Regions from separate parts of the Homo sapiens genome. Here region 2 is linked to region 1. Evidence: promoter capture Hi-C in human tissues and cell types (Jung and others, 2019). All regions are on one chromosome and are shown on one strand. The core of a region is centred on a gene start or on the middle of the fragment in contact, and the rest is flanking DNA. Distances in the headings are between cores, read along the strand shown. Region 1 holds the start of PIGN (phosphatidylinositol glycan anchor biosynthesis class N). Region 2 overlaps PHLPP1 (PH domain and leucine rich repeat protein phosphatase 1).

Region 1 (7,939 bases), core at 446-2,945:
AATCATTCCAAGGTAAAAAGGTCAATTCCTATCTAATGCAAAGAGAAAAGCCTGCAAGGTGGTGGGATGGTGAGACAGACTGCTGGTAGAACCTGTCTGCCTTGCTCCTTGGATTTCCTGTAATTTTGGACATTACTTAAATTAAGGCATTGAAACTGAATTACATCAACTTTATCTCAACAGAACAAATTTTGTGCAGCAGAAAACCCAATTTTGGCGGTGAAAAAGTCGTCCCAAAGACAAAGGGTCTTAAGTACATCTGACTTTTCGGAGACAGCAGCAGTGTGTCCTATTCTTTCTCTCCTGGCTCAGACTCAAAGAACTACTGCAGGCAATTCAGGTAACACTATTTCCTGGTAGTGTGATTCAGGTAACTGGAGAAAAAGGAAAATGCTTAAAGCAATAAACTAGTATAAAAGGGAACCTTCTGGAGTCCCGTAATAGCCAGTGAACTAGAAACTCTTGATATTTTATAGATACTGACACCAGTAGGGGAGCCAGGAGCCAAGTGCAACACCAGCCAAGGGTTGGAAGCAGGCAGAGAGAACAGTCATTGCCTGATCCTCTTGCTTCCACCGCAAAAGAGCGCCCCCACCCCAATACTCTCGTTCCTTAAAATGTCCCTATCGGGACCCACGCAGAAATACCCCCTCTCCCCTACAGTAACTCCGTACAATCCCAAATACCCTGCCGGAGTGTGACAGGCTGCGTCCACTTACTGAGCTGTCCCCCGCCCGACGCTGTACTCGGTTCCCGACCTCCAGCGCCCCCAACGCCGGCTGCTCCAGGGACCCCTGGCGCCCCCATCCCCGGCGGGGTTCCACTTTGCCTCTCGAAGTTGCCTGGATTGGAGAAGTAGTCGCGCAGCCGAGGCAGCTCCCGGCCACTCTCTAACAGCTCGGTATGCAGCTCCAGGGCGGTCAGCAAGTATTGATCGCGCAACAGCTGAGCAGCGATCGCATCAATTGATAATCGGGCCGGGGTCTCCCCGGTGCCCCCCAGGGCCACTGCAGCCGCCGACGCCTCCCCAGGGAGCCCTGGCCGCGCACTGCTTCCTAAGGCCACGGGATCCTGTGGCGACAGCGAGCCCGCAGAGCCAGGATCTAGGCCACTTCCGGCGCCCAGCCGAAGTACTGCCCGCCGTTCCTCTGTTGCAGCTACCTCGTCATCGTCCTCATCCGAATCACTGAGAAATGGATTCACGCCGCCACCACTGCCACTACCTCCAGGCGCCATCGCCGCCATCTTATCCTGTCAGGAGTGTGGGCGCCTCCCTGACTGGTTCCGACGGGCCGCAGCCCGAATCCTCTAGGCCTCAGGGGACACAGCGCACCTCCACAGCCCCGGCCTGACCACGTCCTGCCTCCCGACTTAGAGACAAGGAGTACGCTCCAAGGCAGGAGATCCGGATGCAGCTGCACCTGATGCCTCAGCCTCTGCTGCACCAGCAGCCCGGCTCTGCAGGCGTCTTCCTGGTCTCCAGTCTCGCGAGAACTGGAGCGTGCCCCTGCCCCTCTCCCCGATCTAGCCCCGCCCCAGCCCCGCCCCAGCCCACTTCAGCTCCGCCCATTCCCAGCGCCAGATAGCAAAGATTGAAGGCCCCGCTCTCCGCTCAAAAGCAAAACTCCACCCACGACTCCTCCATGATTGGTCAGAGAAGGAAGGCGTGGAGCGGACTGACGGGAGACTGGCCCGAGAATTATCGCGATAGCAGCAGCGGCCGGGCAGGTATTGGGGGCGTTCCGGAATTGAGGGGTGGTTGTAGTGGTGGCTTAGGAATACCCTCCCGGCTATCGCTTCAGTGGGTAGAGGGGACCACTGCCCGAGAGCTTTAATGGAGCTGGGTCCTGCCTTCGCGCTGAGGAGCCCTCGTTTTCGAGATCAGGCCTGACCGGGATAAGCTCCAGGTAAAGTTCAGGGACCAGTGCGCGGAGGGTGTCGGCGCCCAAACTGTGGTGTCGCGCCCGCGGACGCGCTGTTTCCCTACTGCGCTGCACTTTTTCTCGCTATTTGCTGCCAGTGGTGACATTTTGTCCCCATGGATAGCAAGTGCCCAGGCCTGTAGTCGGAATGTGACTTCCTTTCTTTTCCCTTCTCTGCCACATGCTTGCACACTCGGGAGGCCTAGCGACAGCACGACTTCTCAGCCCCGGAGGTGGTCCTGCCTGTGGGTGGGGACGGGGGCTGGAGAGACTAAACGGAAAAGGGAACGCTGAGGTTGGCATTTGCCTGGATCTGGGAACATCGTCGAGTTGGAAAACAAATTGTTAGGTACTCAATAAACGCTTAGGATTTAATACACGATTTACACAACAGGGACCCTTCAGAATATCTAATGCTGTCTCACCAGTAGACAGATAAGTAAACTTAAGCCAAGAGTGGTTGTTATAAAATCAGCTCCACGCCGGGCGCGGTGGCTCACGCCTGTAATCCCAGCACTTTGGGAGGCCGAGCCGGGCGGATCACGAGGTCGGGAGTTCGAGACCAGCCTGACCAACATGGTGAAACCCCTTCTCTACTAAAAACACAAAAATTAGTTGGGCGTGGTGGCGCAAGCCTGCAATCCCAGCTACTCAGGAGGCTGAGGCAGGAGAATCGCTTGAACCCCGGAGGCGAAGATTGCAGTGAGCCGAGGTCGCGCCACTGCACTCCAGCCTGGGCGACAGAACGAGACTCCGTCTCAAAAAAAAAAAAAAAAAAAAAAAAAAATCAATTCCGCTAATAAGGAGTCAAAGGAATTAACATCATTTCTCTTATGTCCCAAACGATTCTTTATCCACTGTCTCCTGCAACATTTCTGACTCGTTCATGCAGGCTAGAATCAAGGTTTTGGAACTTAGAACTATTTTAAAAGTTGAATGCTTCAGAGAGTTTTGATTTTTTTGATGAAATGTTAGCATATAAAGTACATATCCTAAGTTTAGAAGATCAACGTTTATCTTTTATGTCATTCCTTGATTATGATCTGAAAAGGTAAAGGAATTTCCAGTCAATACAATTAGACTGCTATTTCTTATGGCTCCTATTTTTTTCACACACAAATGACCACTTTTCCAGGCTTTAGATTTCCTTTCTTAGTGTACAGGTAAGTGACATATTACATTCAGTGTGTAGTAAACATTCCACAGTAAAGTATCTCCCGTTAGCTCCATGGAAAAATTAAAATAGACGATTCTTACATAACCTTAGGTCAGGTTATTGGTTTACATGTAAAAGTATGCCAACAGTTAAGAGTAGGCTTTAATTTCAATATACCCAGGCTCAATAAACTAAAATTTTCATTTGAATGGGGATTTGGGTTTTTAAAATTTTATTTTTGCTAGAAGTTTAAAAAAAAAGTACCAAGAATTTAAACTATTTTTTTATAGGACATTAGTTCCCAATGTTTTAATGATAAATAGTTTTCTGTGCCATATATTAAAAGTAAAACATGGGGAAAAAAATCCCCCCAAATAGAATTGAAATGGCAAATACTGTATCCTGTTAGAGATTTCTTAGCAAAAGGGATTGCTGATCCGTATTTTAGTTGGATTTTCCAGAGAGATTAAAATGGAACCAATTTCTGGAATCCAGGAATGGAGGATTAGTGAATGGCATGGGAAGGGCATGATTAGAAATGGATTGTTTATATACAATATTTCCATCTCCATGATTGGGAAATTGAGAAATCTCCTGCATTTAGGATTCCTGAAGAGGATTATGCTTATAAGATAGAAAAGCTTAAGTTCAGATCCCAATTCTACTCATTATTTATTGTGAGACCTTGAAAAAGTTACCTAACTTCTCAGCCTCACTTGCATTCGTCTATCAAAGGGGATAAGGAAAGTACACAGAATTGAGAATGTTCTTGTCCCAGTGCCTGGTACCTGCTACACAATAACTATTACTGTGGTCACTTATTAATTATTGAAATATTAGTATGTGTTGAGAACATTTGACAAGTGTTTAAAAATAAAACTAATATCAATCGTTTTGGCAGTGCAAGCCTGAAAAAGCAATTAAGTCAGTAGGGCTGAAGGGAGTATCTTTAATTTGGGGTCTCAGTTCTAAAACACAAGTTGAAAATAGATTTAAAATGTTTCCTCAGAGTTGTAAGAACTTGCATGTAGAGGAATTCTTCCCATACAAATCTGTGGTTTTCTGCTTCTATTTCTGCCTCCTATCCTATAACCATGAACTTGTGTGTTTGATCTTGTAAGCCCATTAGAAATCAACTGCCCAGTCTTCCCAGTATGTACTTTTCTTTTCCACAATACACAGAGGTTTGGTTATTCGTGAATAATGTATAAGTAACACACACTGGAATATTAAAAATTACCGATCACTACTTATAATAATGTATTATTAATAGTGTTGGGAAATTTCCTTTCTACTTAGTAAGATTTTCATTAATCTAGGCCCTTACAACTAATGTTTCATCTGACTAATGATAGTTATTAAAGCTTGTGCCTTAGCAATGAAGATGTAAAAGATGCCTTTTTTCAAAGCACGTCAATCATTTTAGTATTTAAAAAATTATTTTAGGTTTTAATAGTCTTAAAAGAACCACAAGTAATATTCTGAATGCAAGTTTTGGTTGACTTGAGGTTTTAGTAATACCTCATGTTTTATTGTTTTTCAGTGTGTGGTAAACATCCACAGATAAACTAGATAACTTGTATTGGTACATGCATATATCTTTTTAAAATTTTAATAGTTATGTGTTTGTTTTGGAGGTATTTCTTTTTCAATAAATCTGAATAAATTGTGATTTTCTTTAAAGAGAAGTATTAAGTAATATTTAGTATTAAGCAATTAAACTAATTAAAATAAGTAGTTAGTGAATGCTGATATTTTGTAATAACTGCAATTTTATTTACATTAATAGTAAATTACTTTATCATAAAAGGTTTAGTTTTTTTTTTTTTAAAGTATTTTCAGTCTTCACATCTTGTTCTGGAGGAACAAAAACAGAAGCAGGGCATCCTCTAGTGGCTGTAGTGCATATTGCATTTACCCTTGAAATGATAATTCTAAATAATTTATTCAGCAAACATTTGAGTCCTTACTAAGTGCATAAGACTCTGATGGGTGTTGGAGATGCCCCGTCCTGCTGTCATGGAATTGTGGTGAAGTGACAGAGACAGACATTAATTCAAATAGTCGTAGACAAAGCTATGTAATTACAAACTGAAGTAAAAGTTTTCGTTTCTGACTTCACCTGCATAGTCCCTGAGGAAGTGATGCTTGAAATGGAATGTTAGGAGAGAGTGGAAGATAGGTTGCAAGTACATTCTGCAGAGAGGAATTGAGCCTACAAAGGTCTTATAGCAGTGGGATACTTGAATAAAAGAAGGGGCCAGTGATGTGAGATGTTACAAAGTAAAGGGGAGTGCTATGAGACAGGTTTAGAAAAGAAGGCAGAGGCTAGTCTATAAAAGACCTTGTTAGTCACATTAAGGATTTTAGTCTAGATTAGTAGGTGAAAAGGCACTGGAGAGTTTTTTTTTTCCAGCTGTGACTTCATTTTTAAATTTATTTTTTAATATACGATTTTATGTATTCATTGTGTACATGATGTTCTTCAGTTTATATACATTGTGAAATGCTCAAATCTAGCTAAGTAACAAATGCATTACCTTACACATAGTTATCATTTTTGTGATGAGAAATTTGAACATCTACCCTTTTAGCAGTTTTCAAGAATACAATATATCATCATTAACTAGAGTCACCATGCTGTACAACAGAGCTCTTGAACTTATTCCTTCTATCTAACTCTAATATGAATGCTTTGATCAGTATCTCTACAATTGCCCCCCGCTGTGGAACTACCCCAGCCTCTGGTTACCACCATTCTGCTTCTAATTCAGTGGGGTCAACTTTCTTAAGTTCCACATAGGAGTGAAATCATGCAGTATTTGTGTTTCTGCACCTGGCTTATTTCACTTAGCATACCAGGCTTCAGGAACATCCGTGTTGTTGCAAACGTGTCTTTTGACTTTAAAGACAGTGAATGCTTCACAGAAGGCACTGGAGAGTTTTATACAAGGGGTAAGATGTTCAGATTTTCTTTTGAAAAAAGAAAAGCAAGTAATACTCTGGCTACATGGCAAGAAATGGATCAGAGAAGGGTTAGAGTATATAGGGGTGACCTATTCCTGCATTGCAGTAGTTCGCATAAGAGATGGTATACATCTTAAATTATAGAGGTGTCAATGGAGATTAAGACAAATGAACAGATTCAAGAAACACAAAGTGGACAATTGTTAGATTAAATAAAGGGGAAGAATAGGGTGTAAAGAACAATGCCTATTTCTCAGACTTACATACTTGGTGGGAAGGTGGTGCCACCTACTGAGATTGTGAACACTAAGGATTTAGTAGGTAGTAGACAAGGCTCATGGGAAATGTTATGAATTTGGTTTTAAACCTACTTAGTTGAGTGTCTTTGAAACGTCCATGTAGATTTATAAAGGTTCGAGTTACATATGTGGATTTGGAGCTATAATTTGTTGAGGCTTTTGCATATTAGGTAATAACTGAAGCCACAGATATGATGAAACTTGCCAGGATAGAAAGTATAGAGTGAGAAGAAAAGACAGCTGAGGACCAAGTTTTGAGTAACTCCAAAATTTAGTGATCAGATAGAGACTGTTCAACATTGGTCAGAGGTGTAGGTGAAAAATGAAAGCAGTAATGTTCATAGAAGCCAAGTGATAACAGCCTATTAAAAAGGAGAAGGCAGCCGGGCATGGTGGCTCATGCCTGTAATCCCACCACTTTGGGAGGATGAGGTAGGTGGATCACCTGAGGTCAGGAGTTTGAGACCAGCCTGGCCAACATGGTGAAACCCTGTCTCTACTAAAAATACAAAATTACCTGGGCATGATGCTGTGTGCCTGTAATCCCAGCTACTTGGGAGGCTGAGGCAGGAGAATTGCTTGAACCCGGGAGGTGGAGGTTGCAGTGAGCCGAGATCGCGCCACTGCACTCCAGCCTGGGCGATAGATAGGGCGAGACTCTGTCTAAAAAGAAATAAAAATAAAAAGGAGAAGGCGACTGGGCCCAGCAACTCACACCTGTAATCCCAGCACTTTAGGAGGCCGAGGTGAGTAGATGACTTGAGCCCAGGAGTTCAAGACCAGCCTGGGCAACATGGCAAGACCCCCGCTCTACAAAAAATACAAAAATTAGCTGAATGTGGTAAACATGCACCTGTGGTCCCCGCTACTTGGGAAGCTGAGGTGGGAGGATGACTTAGCCCAGGAAGCTTAGGTTGCTTAGAAAATGAAGACTAAAAAATAGCTATTAGATTTTGCACTGTTAACTGTCTTTACTTTCTTATGAAGTAATGACAATAAGGTTTAAGTTGTTTGAGATTTAGGTGGTCAGGAAAAAAAAGAGGTCACATTCAGCCTTTTCAAGAAGTTTGACTGTGTTGGGGAGAAAAGGGCAATAGATGTTTAAAATTTTTTTTATTAATACTGATATTTATGAGATGTATCCTTTTCAGAAATATGGTATTTCATTATGAATAAACAATTTATCTGTTCCCTATGGTTAGATATTGTTTCCAATTTTTTATTATTACAAATAGCAAAAGCCAAGATTTGAATGTAAAGGTTTAAAACCTTTTTCTTTCTGATGTGTAATTTTATCATAGTAAATTCTACACTAGTAGCAGTACTAATACTTGTGAGCTGGTTAAAAACATAAGCTGATGTCTACCTCACACCATATACAAATAATTATTTTTGTTTCAGAGGACACAAACCAACACAAATAAATTTTAAATAATGAAAGGTAAAAAACAAAAATCTAAAACTATTAGAAGAATATATGTGACATAAGAACCAGGAAAGTTTTCTTCTATAGTACAAGACACAAAAAACTCACACCAGAAAGGATAAATGTTTGACAAATTTTACTGTATTAAAGTTGAAAAATTTATTTTAAC
Region 2 (7,939 bases), core at 3,816-6,315, 750 kb before region 1:
GAAATTTTTGTTGTTGTTGTTGTTGTTTGTTTTTTGAGACGGAGTCTCGCTCTGTTGCCCAGGCTGGAGCGCAGTGGCACGATCTCGGCTCACTGCAAGCTCTGCCTCCCAGGTTCATGACATTCTCCTGCCTCAGCCTCCCGAGTAGCTGGGACTACAGGCACGAGCCACCATGCCCGGCTAATTTTTTCTATTTTTAGTAGAGACAGGGTTTCACCGTGTTAGCCAGGATGGTCTCGATCTCCTGACCTCATGATCCGCCTGCCTTGGCCTCCCAAAGTGCTGGGATTACCGGCGTGAGCCACCGCGCCCAGCCAAATTCTGGAAATTTATAACAAACATCTTAAAATGCCACTGTGATGTATGAGACAGTGTTCTTAAAGCCCAAAGTAAAACATTTTGTGGCTTAAAGCATACGTGCACATGCGTGCGCACACACACACACACAAACAAAATGGCTTGTACACATCTCAACCATATAAATGTGTAAAAACTGTTGTGATAAAAAGTTATGCAAGCCGGCCGGGCATGGTGGCTCATGCTTGTAATCCCAGCACTTTGGGAGGCCGAGGTGGGTGGATCACCTTGAGGTCAGGAGTTCAAGACCAGCCTGGCCAACATGGTGAAACCCTGTCTCTACAAAAAAATACAAAAGTTAGCTGGGCATGGTGGCAGGCGCCTGTAATCCCAGCTAGTCGGGAGGCTGCGGCGAGCGAATCGCTTGAACCCGGAAGACAGAGAGAGGTTGCAGTGAGCCAAGATTGCACCATTGCACTCCAGCCTGGGCAACAAGAGTGAAACTCCATCTCAAAAACAAAACAAAAAAAAGTTATGCAAGCCATTTAAAATGTCTTCAAATGTCTATTTGCTTTCTTAATCTAAAACACAAGGTTTATATCAGCAAGTGCCTGGAAAGTGAAGAATGGCTAAGTTGGACTGCTCTTGTTCCCTGTTAGGAGATTAGAATATGCTCCAAGTCTGTAACCACCAAATTATTTTTCATTAAGCATAAAATCGATTACTAGAAATGCTAAGATACAAATGAAAAACTACATTGTATATAAAGAACTTTTTACTTCTGTACCATTTCCCTGCCAGAAAAGAAACAAAATAGGAACACATGGTTGTTACATGGCTTTCATTCTAGTGAACTGGTTTCATCCCATGAATCTACCTCAAGTCAGCAGTCAGGATTTGCAGACTACCTCTGCTACCAATTTGCTGTCTTAATTTACACAGATTGCTTCACTTTTCAGCACCTCAGTGTCCTTACTTATCAAATGACAATAATATCTGCTCTGCCAATTTCATTCCGTTGAAATCAATGTTTGGTGACAGCAATGATGCTCTGTCTATATAGGGAATTACCATTAGTGGGCTAATATGGTGGGGTGTGCTATTTAACTGGGTGAGTTGGTAGGGAGCGATGTGTAGTGGTACTGTTAACCTTTTCAAACTGCGATTACACCAGCGTCAGCCTTTGAGCCTCATAACCACCCTGGAAATAAGTGGAACAACTATTAACAGATAAAGAAGTATAGGGTGGCTATGTGGGTAGCCTCATGTCATACAGTAAGTGAGGGACTCAGCCTAGAAATCCAATTTTCCCAAAACCTGCTCCAGTGTTTTGCTTTGTTTTTTAACTCTGCCGACTCAACGGTGTAGCCCATTGGTTAGGAAGGAGGAAGTAAGGGCTAATGGGGGCCTTCATTCTGAATAAATCCAACAAAGATGCAAACGTCCTGAGTTGATGAGTTAGGAAGTCAACTTTCTTTGCCGACCTGAAGCTTAGAGTTTATGAAATGAAACCACATACCTTGATCTCTGGGAGCTGCATAACTTCGGGAAAGACCTCGATGCAGTTGGAGTGAGCAATCACGGTGTGCATGCGCCTGCAATTCATGATCGTTGTTGGGATGGCTTTCAGCTTATTCCCACTGAGATCAATTTCTTCAAGTTCCTCCAGTTTCGCCATTTTACTAAAAAAAGAGAAAATAAAGCAATTTAAAAGAAAATAATATAGGACGAGAATCAAAGGATGAATTAAATTGCTATGACTTTAAGGATTCATTTGTAACAGTCATTTTTACAAACAAGACCATTTTTTCACTATCATTTTGGAGTACTGAAATATTTTAACACCTCCTTTCTCACTACAGAACAAAAACTATTCAACTCTTCAAATTGTCAACAAGAAGGAAAATGGATGCCCTTTTCCTCCTAAAAGTCTATGTGGAAATTAAGTTACCCTGGCAATAATCATGTTACTGTATAGCTTGGTCTGAACACTAATGAAAACACTATTTAAATGGGTCAAAAGCCAGCACTAATACAATAAAACTGCCTTAAAAGAGCTCAGAGAGTATGATTTCTTTGTAGTGGCACTGAAAACTCAAGGGGGAGGTAGAGAACAGGTCTATAGTTCATATTAAGATAAGCTTTTTCTTCAACCCTCACTCCCCCAACTCCTCTGACATCACTGATGAATACAAAGTGGTGGTAAGGAGCAAGGGGTGTGTTAAAAGCCCATTTGGATCACCTCTTGGACTTCTGGCAGAGCCCAAATTCACACCAGGGCCAAAAGACATTTATCTCAATTGTTGCTAAACATCTACCAAGAAGGAATCTCTCCAACCTTATCTTAATAATATGTTCTAATGTAATTAATTTAATACTTCTGTTTAAGAATGTCTTTTATTGTTCAATCCTCCTCATCTATAATCTTCATCAATAATTACAATAACCAACTAAAGAAAAATTCCAGAATCAGGGTTTCTTGCATTCTTTATAAATTTGAAAGAAAAAACAATGCCTCTACCTCTGCAATCACTGTAATAGTATCTGGCACTTTTTTGACCCTTTTTCCACTCCTGCTGATGTTAGACTCCAAGAAGCACAGGATTCCCCATTAGTGTGATCCAGACTCATAAGCTGAATAATAGTTTACATTTTTTGGTATTGTTTCTACCTGTTATAGTTTCATTTGTCACAATACACTTTTAAAGAATTTAACAAAAAAAAACCACTGTATTATTTTTGTCATCTTTCAAATATAAAGATTATCTTGTTTATCTTGAAAATAAATATATGCCTAAGATACAGTAAAAACTAAGTTTTTATCTTATGAAGTCAGACCTTTTAATATCATATACATCCAGTGTGGTATCAGAATAGACTACAAACAATATGTACACAGACTATGAAGTAATCCATCTATGATAGCCCGAATTTCTGAGAATATTATTTAAATATGTTATCATCATATTTTGAAAAAAATATAGTGATACGGTTTGGATTATTTGTCCCCTCCAAATCTCATGTTGAAACGTGATTCCCAGTGTCAGAGGTGGGGCCCGGTGGGAGGTGTTTTGGTCATGGGGGCAGATACCACATGAATGGCTTGATGCCCTTCCCATGGTAATCAGAGAATTCACACGCTGTGCATTCACGCAAGACCCTGGCATCTCTTTTGCCCCCTCTCTCACCATGTGACACAATGGCTCCCCTTCACCTTCTGCCATGATTGTAAGCTTCCTGAAGACTCACCAGAAGCAGATGCCAGCCCTTGTGTGCCTTGAAACTAATGGGTAATGGTGCATGAAAAATGATTAAAAGCACAGAAAACAGGCCCCCAAAAGAAAAAGTTAAAGAAATTTCCAACTCGCCACATAAAAAGAAGGTGGCAAAAGATGTGAAGACAAAATGACTAGATGGTGGTCCCGTTCTTTAATTCAGCAACCATTTAAGTGTGGGCCTTGTGTGAGATATGAGGCTGAGGGATACAGCAAGGTCACAGACCCAGCTCTTAAGGTGCTCTGGTTTGCAGGGGAGCTACTGAGCCACATCACAACCACAGGGAGACAGAATTCATTCCTAGATGGATTTTTTTACAAGGTGTGTTAAAAGTTTCTCTGCACTTAGGGTGGGTGATTACACCTGGCACGGGTCACTGGGGGTATATCCTCAGAATTAGAGCTGATGATCCTTTCCTCTGCAGGGTTTAGACATTCATCATCTGAAAGAAGACAATGAGCTCTTTCAGATAGGTTGCTGTTATGTGATTATCATGGTTTTTTCCAAAAATATCATTTCCCCATTCCATAGTGAAGTAAAAGTAGATGGAAGTAAGCATAAAATAGTTTAATTATTAATATCAAATGAGGAGGAAAGTAAATATTTCATTACACCAAAAACAGAGCAATACTTTAAGTCAACATATACACGGGCCTTCCTTCTTCAGCAAGGGCTCGAACAGACTGGTAGCCCTGAAGGCAGCAGAGGGAAGCTATGATAGTGTTTTGATTTGGCCCCAATGCTGAGTTGCAGTTACCAAGCAGAAACCAGAAGGGTTAGTGTTTGTTTCTTTGATGCGTGGGTGTGTGTTCAAGCCCTAACTTGTTAGATGGATAAAAGCCAATGAAATGGAAACACGGTAAATCCTCACGGCAGGCTCAGCACGCAGATTCACTCAAAGCTAGATATAATGTCACCGCTCACCGAAAATTAGAAATTAAAGTAAAAACAAATTAAAAATGGACTATTTTGAGAGCCAGAATTTGCAATGTTACAGTTTCTATGGTAGTAGAGTCTACCACTGCTCTGTACATCATGAATATGAATATAAAGTTTGGTAGATAATGAAGGATTTTCAGGTTCCTGGTTTACATTCTAATTCCCACATACCCTATTAGGTTAATGTTTTTGGAAACTTTATTATTTACTTTATTTTTTAATAGATAGGGTCTCACTATGTTGCCCAGGCTGGTCTCGAATTCTTCAGCTCAAGTGACCCTCCCATGTCAGCCTCCCGAGTAGCTGGGACTACAGGCACGCACTGCCACACCTGGCTCTAGGATAATGGTTTTTTAAAAAATTAATCTGACTGGTTAAAAAGAAGTAAAAGAAAAAACATACCTGCTAAACAACACATTTTATTTCAAAATCTTAAGAACATTCTTGTGATTAGGTCTTTGGACACATATGAAGAAAACCAATCTACTTCTCTTTAGGGAAATGTCATCATAGCTTACATAAAGGAAACTGTGAAGGGAGCAGGAACAAGCAAACAAACTTGACATCACCTGGGAAATAAATATTTCAGCCTTCACCTTTCTATGAATACACTTTGAGAAATGCAATTCAGAACGCAGCTTTACAACTGTCCTTTACCTTGCTGGAAAACTCTGAAGTCGGTTATAGGCCATGTGAAGGATCTTCAAATGGGGGTGTCCCGTTAACAAGGGCACACATTTGTCTGTGAGGCTGTTATTTGTCAAATACAACTCTTGTAAGATACTGTTTGTCTCTTCGGAAAGCGTGGCTGGAGGAAGGCTTTCCAGTTTGTTCGCAGAGGCGTTCAGGAATCTCAGGCTACAATGACAAAACGCAACAAAATGCCATTGAAAAGTCACAAAAACCCTCAAGAAACCTAAAAGCTTTGATACCAGGCATATTAGAAGCTGGGATCAGAAACATGAATTGAAAAGACAAGCCCTGGCTTCAAGGAGTTCAATTAGCAAGTATTTGTATCTGTGATTCACTAACTATCATGACCACAATAGCTATCTATATGTATTAAACACAGAGATACAACCAATTTTTATGGAAGCACAAAGGTAAGGGGAAGCAATTATTTTTATAGTTGGCGGGGAGTGGAAGAGAAAGTGATATGGTAAAGTTAATATTCTGACTTAAGGAAGAGAAAAACAGTTTCCTATTTTGTAATCAAAAGTTTTTGCTAAAGCAGGAGGATGCCAGGAGTTTGAGACCAGCCTGGGCAACAAAGCAAGATCCTGCCTCTATAAAAATTAGGTGAATAAATAAATAATAAATAAATGGTTCTTATAGTAATAAAACAGGTATTAGATCACAATGCAACTAAATCACATAGTGACTTGAGTCCTCTTCAGTATAAAGTCCAAAGCACATTTTACTGGCTTTCACAAGTGCAGGAGATAATTTGCTCTCTATTAAAACAACATAATATGATGTAGCAATGAGAATAAAGAACTAAAACAACATGTATCAACAGGATGAATCTCACAAACACATAATGACCAGAAGAAGCCAGATACAAGAGGAGACCCACTGCATGATCCCATAACTATATAAAGTTCAAAGTCAGGCAAAATTACTCTGTAGTAACAGAAGTCAGGATGGCAGTAACTCTTAGGTGGGGAGGGAAAGGAGGCAGTATCCAGGAGACGGCGTGTAACGTTTCAAATATTGTAATGTTCTGTTTCTTAGTCCAGGTGCTGGTTACACAAGTGTGCTCACTTTGAGACGAAGCATCAAGGGCTACACTTATGATCTGGCCTCTTTTCTGTATTTATATTGTACTTAAATAAATTTTACATTAAAACAAACAAACAAGATAATATATTGCTGCCACACTTTTCAGATGCTAGAGTGAAAAGAGGATAAAGGCCAGGCGTGGTGGCTCACGCCTGTAATCCCAGCACTTTGGGAGGCCGAGGCAGGCGGATCACAAGGTCAGGAGATCGAGACCATCCTGGCTAACATGGTGAAACCCTGTTTCTACTAAACATACAAAAAATTAGCCGGGTGTGGTGGCGGGCGCCTGCAGTCCCAGCTACTCGGGAGGCTGAGGCAGGAGAATGGCGTGAACCCAGGAGGCAGAGCTTGCAGTGAGCGGAGATCGCACCACTGTACTCCAGCCTGGGCGACAGAGCGAGATTCCATCTCAAAAAAAAAAAAAAAAAAAAAAAAAAAAGAAAAGAAAGAAAAAGAAACGTGGATAAAATATAAAGAATGGTTTTATAACTAAGATAAGTAAAATTGCCCAAAAAAAAAAAAATCCTCCACGGTGATTGTGAAATGTAGTTAAATGCACATTGCAAAGCTGGGGAATGGCAACAAATCCTTGCTGTGATCAGGTTCCAAATCACTCCAAAGGGACGGACTGTGTCACCCTCAAGAGTCAGAGATGACCCTCCTGATTCATGACGAATGTCCAACTGTGCAGCTGCAGCAGGTGGGAAAGAGACAGTGCTCAGTACATAGCACTTGCCTACAAGAGTTAGAAGGGTGAAATCTCCCATGCCTCCCCCTGGCCCCCAGATCAACCCTGTTGATGAACCACACTATTCCCTCATTTCAATCACTTTGGTTTGAAACTTTCACCATTCAATTCAGGACTATTCTGCCATCTGTTAAAAAAAAAAAGAATAAAATCATCCTTAAAAAGAATACAGAATACCAGGCAGTTATTTTTAATCTTGGAGAGAAAAAAAAAGGCTACTAGGAGTCCTCACCAGGACTGTCACTTCAAGCTCTCAGTCCACTAATTTAAAACTCTTCAATCTTGTACAACCCCTTCAACACACAAGCACCAACTCCATTACTTATCTGAGGAAAAGCAGCTTCCCCAAAATAGAACATTTTCCATTAAAGAAACACGTATTCCGTTGACATTAAAAAAAAAAAAAAGGAAGTTAGAGAACGGCTATCCAGACCATAAATAGTCACGGGAAATTATAGTCGTGTGTGCTACAGAGAAGGAAATAAAGGTCACTCCTGCAGTTTCTGAAATGGTTTTGAAGTAGGAAGGAAACAAGTTTCAGCAACATAGTTGTTTACCATCGCTGTTTAGAGTATTTTTATGAGTCTGTTTCTTTAGATCCCATTTAGACCACCTTATTTCCTGTTAAGAATTTCTTTAGTGTAGCATTAGAATAAATTACAATGTAAGAAATAAATTTTATTGCCCTAAAATATCATGGACTAGTGTTGGCTGGGAAACTATATAAAATAATTTCATTAAAATAGAATTCTCAGCTGGGCGCAGTGGCTCACACCTGTAATCCCAGCACTTTGGGTGGCTGAGGCGGGTGGATCACCTGAGGTCAGGAGTTCGAGACCAGCCTGGCCAACATGGTGAAACCCCCCTCCTCTACTAAAAATACAAATATTAGCTGGG

What was found. The method cuts DNA at HindIII sites, captures the fragments that hold promoters and counts their contacts. A contact is called where the count stands out against the background at its distance.
Region 2: a contact is called between a fragment that was not itself captured here and the fragment with the promoter of PIGN in region 1, in 1 of the 25 tissues and cell types used here (dorsolateral prefrontal cortex).

Annotation. Positions count from the first base shown.
Region 1 is chr18:62,180,812-62,188,750 of GRCh38, reverse strand. It overlaps PIGN (phosphatidylinositol glycan anchor biosynthesis class N), which reads left to right and starts at 1,695. Exons shown (of 31, transcript NM_176787.5): 1 at 1,695-1,907. RELCH (RAB11 binding and LisH domain, coiled-coil and HEAT repeat containing) reads right to left here and starts at 1,496. Exons shown (of 29, transcript NM_001346231.2): 1 at 720-1,496. The coding sequence starts at 1,245. RefSeq lists silencers at 811-1,030, 1,981-2,193 and an enhancer at 1,181-1,390. The HindIII fragment of the contact is 6,487 bases long and covers 1-4,081 here.
Region 2 is chr18:62,939,149-62,947,087 of GRCh38, reverse strand. It overlaps PHLPP1 (PH domain and leucine rich repeat protein phosphatase 1), which reads right to left. Exons shown (of 17, transcript NM_194449.4): 11 at 5,170-5,370; 12 at 1,817-1,979. Among named protein-coding and RNA genes, the nearest start is that of PHLPP1, 230 kb to the right of the region's middle. RefSeq lists an enhancer at 3,902-5,101. The HindIII fragment of the contact is 4,162 bases long and covers 2,985-7,146 here.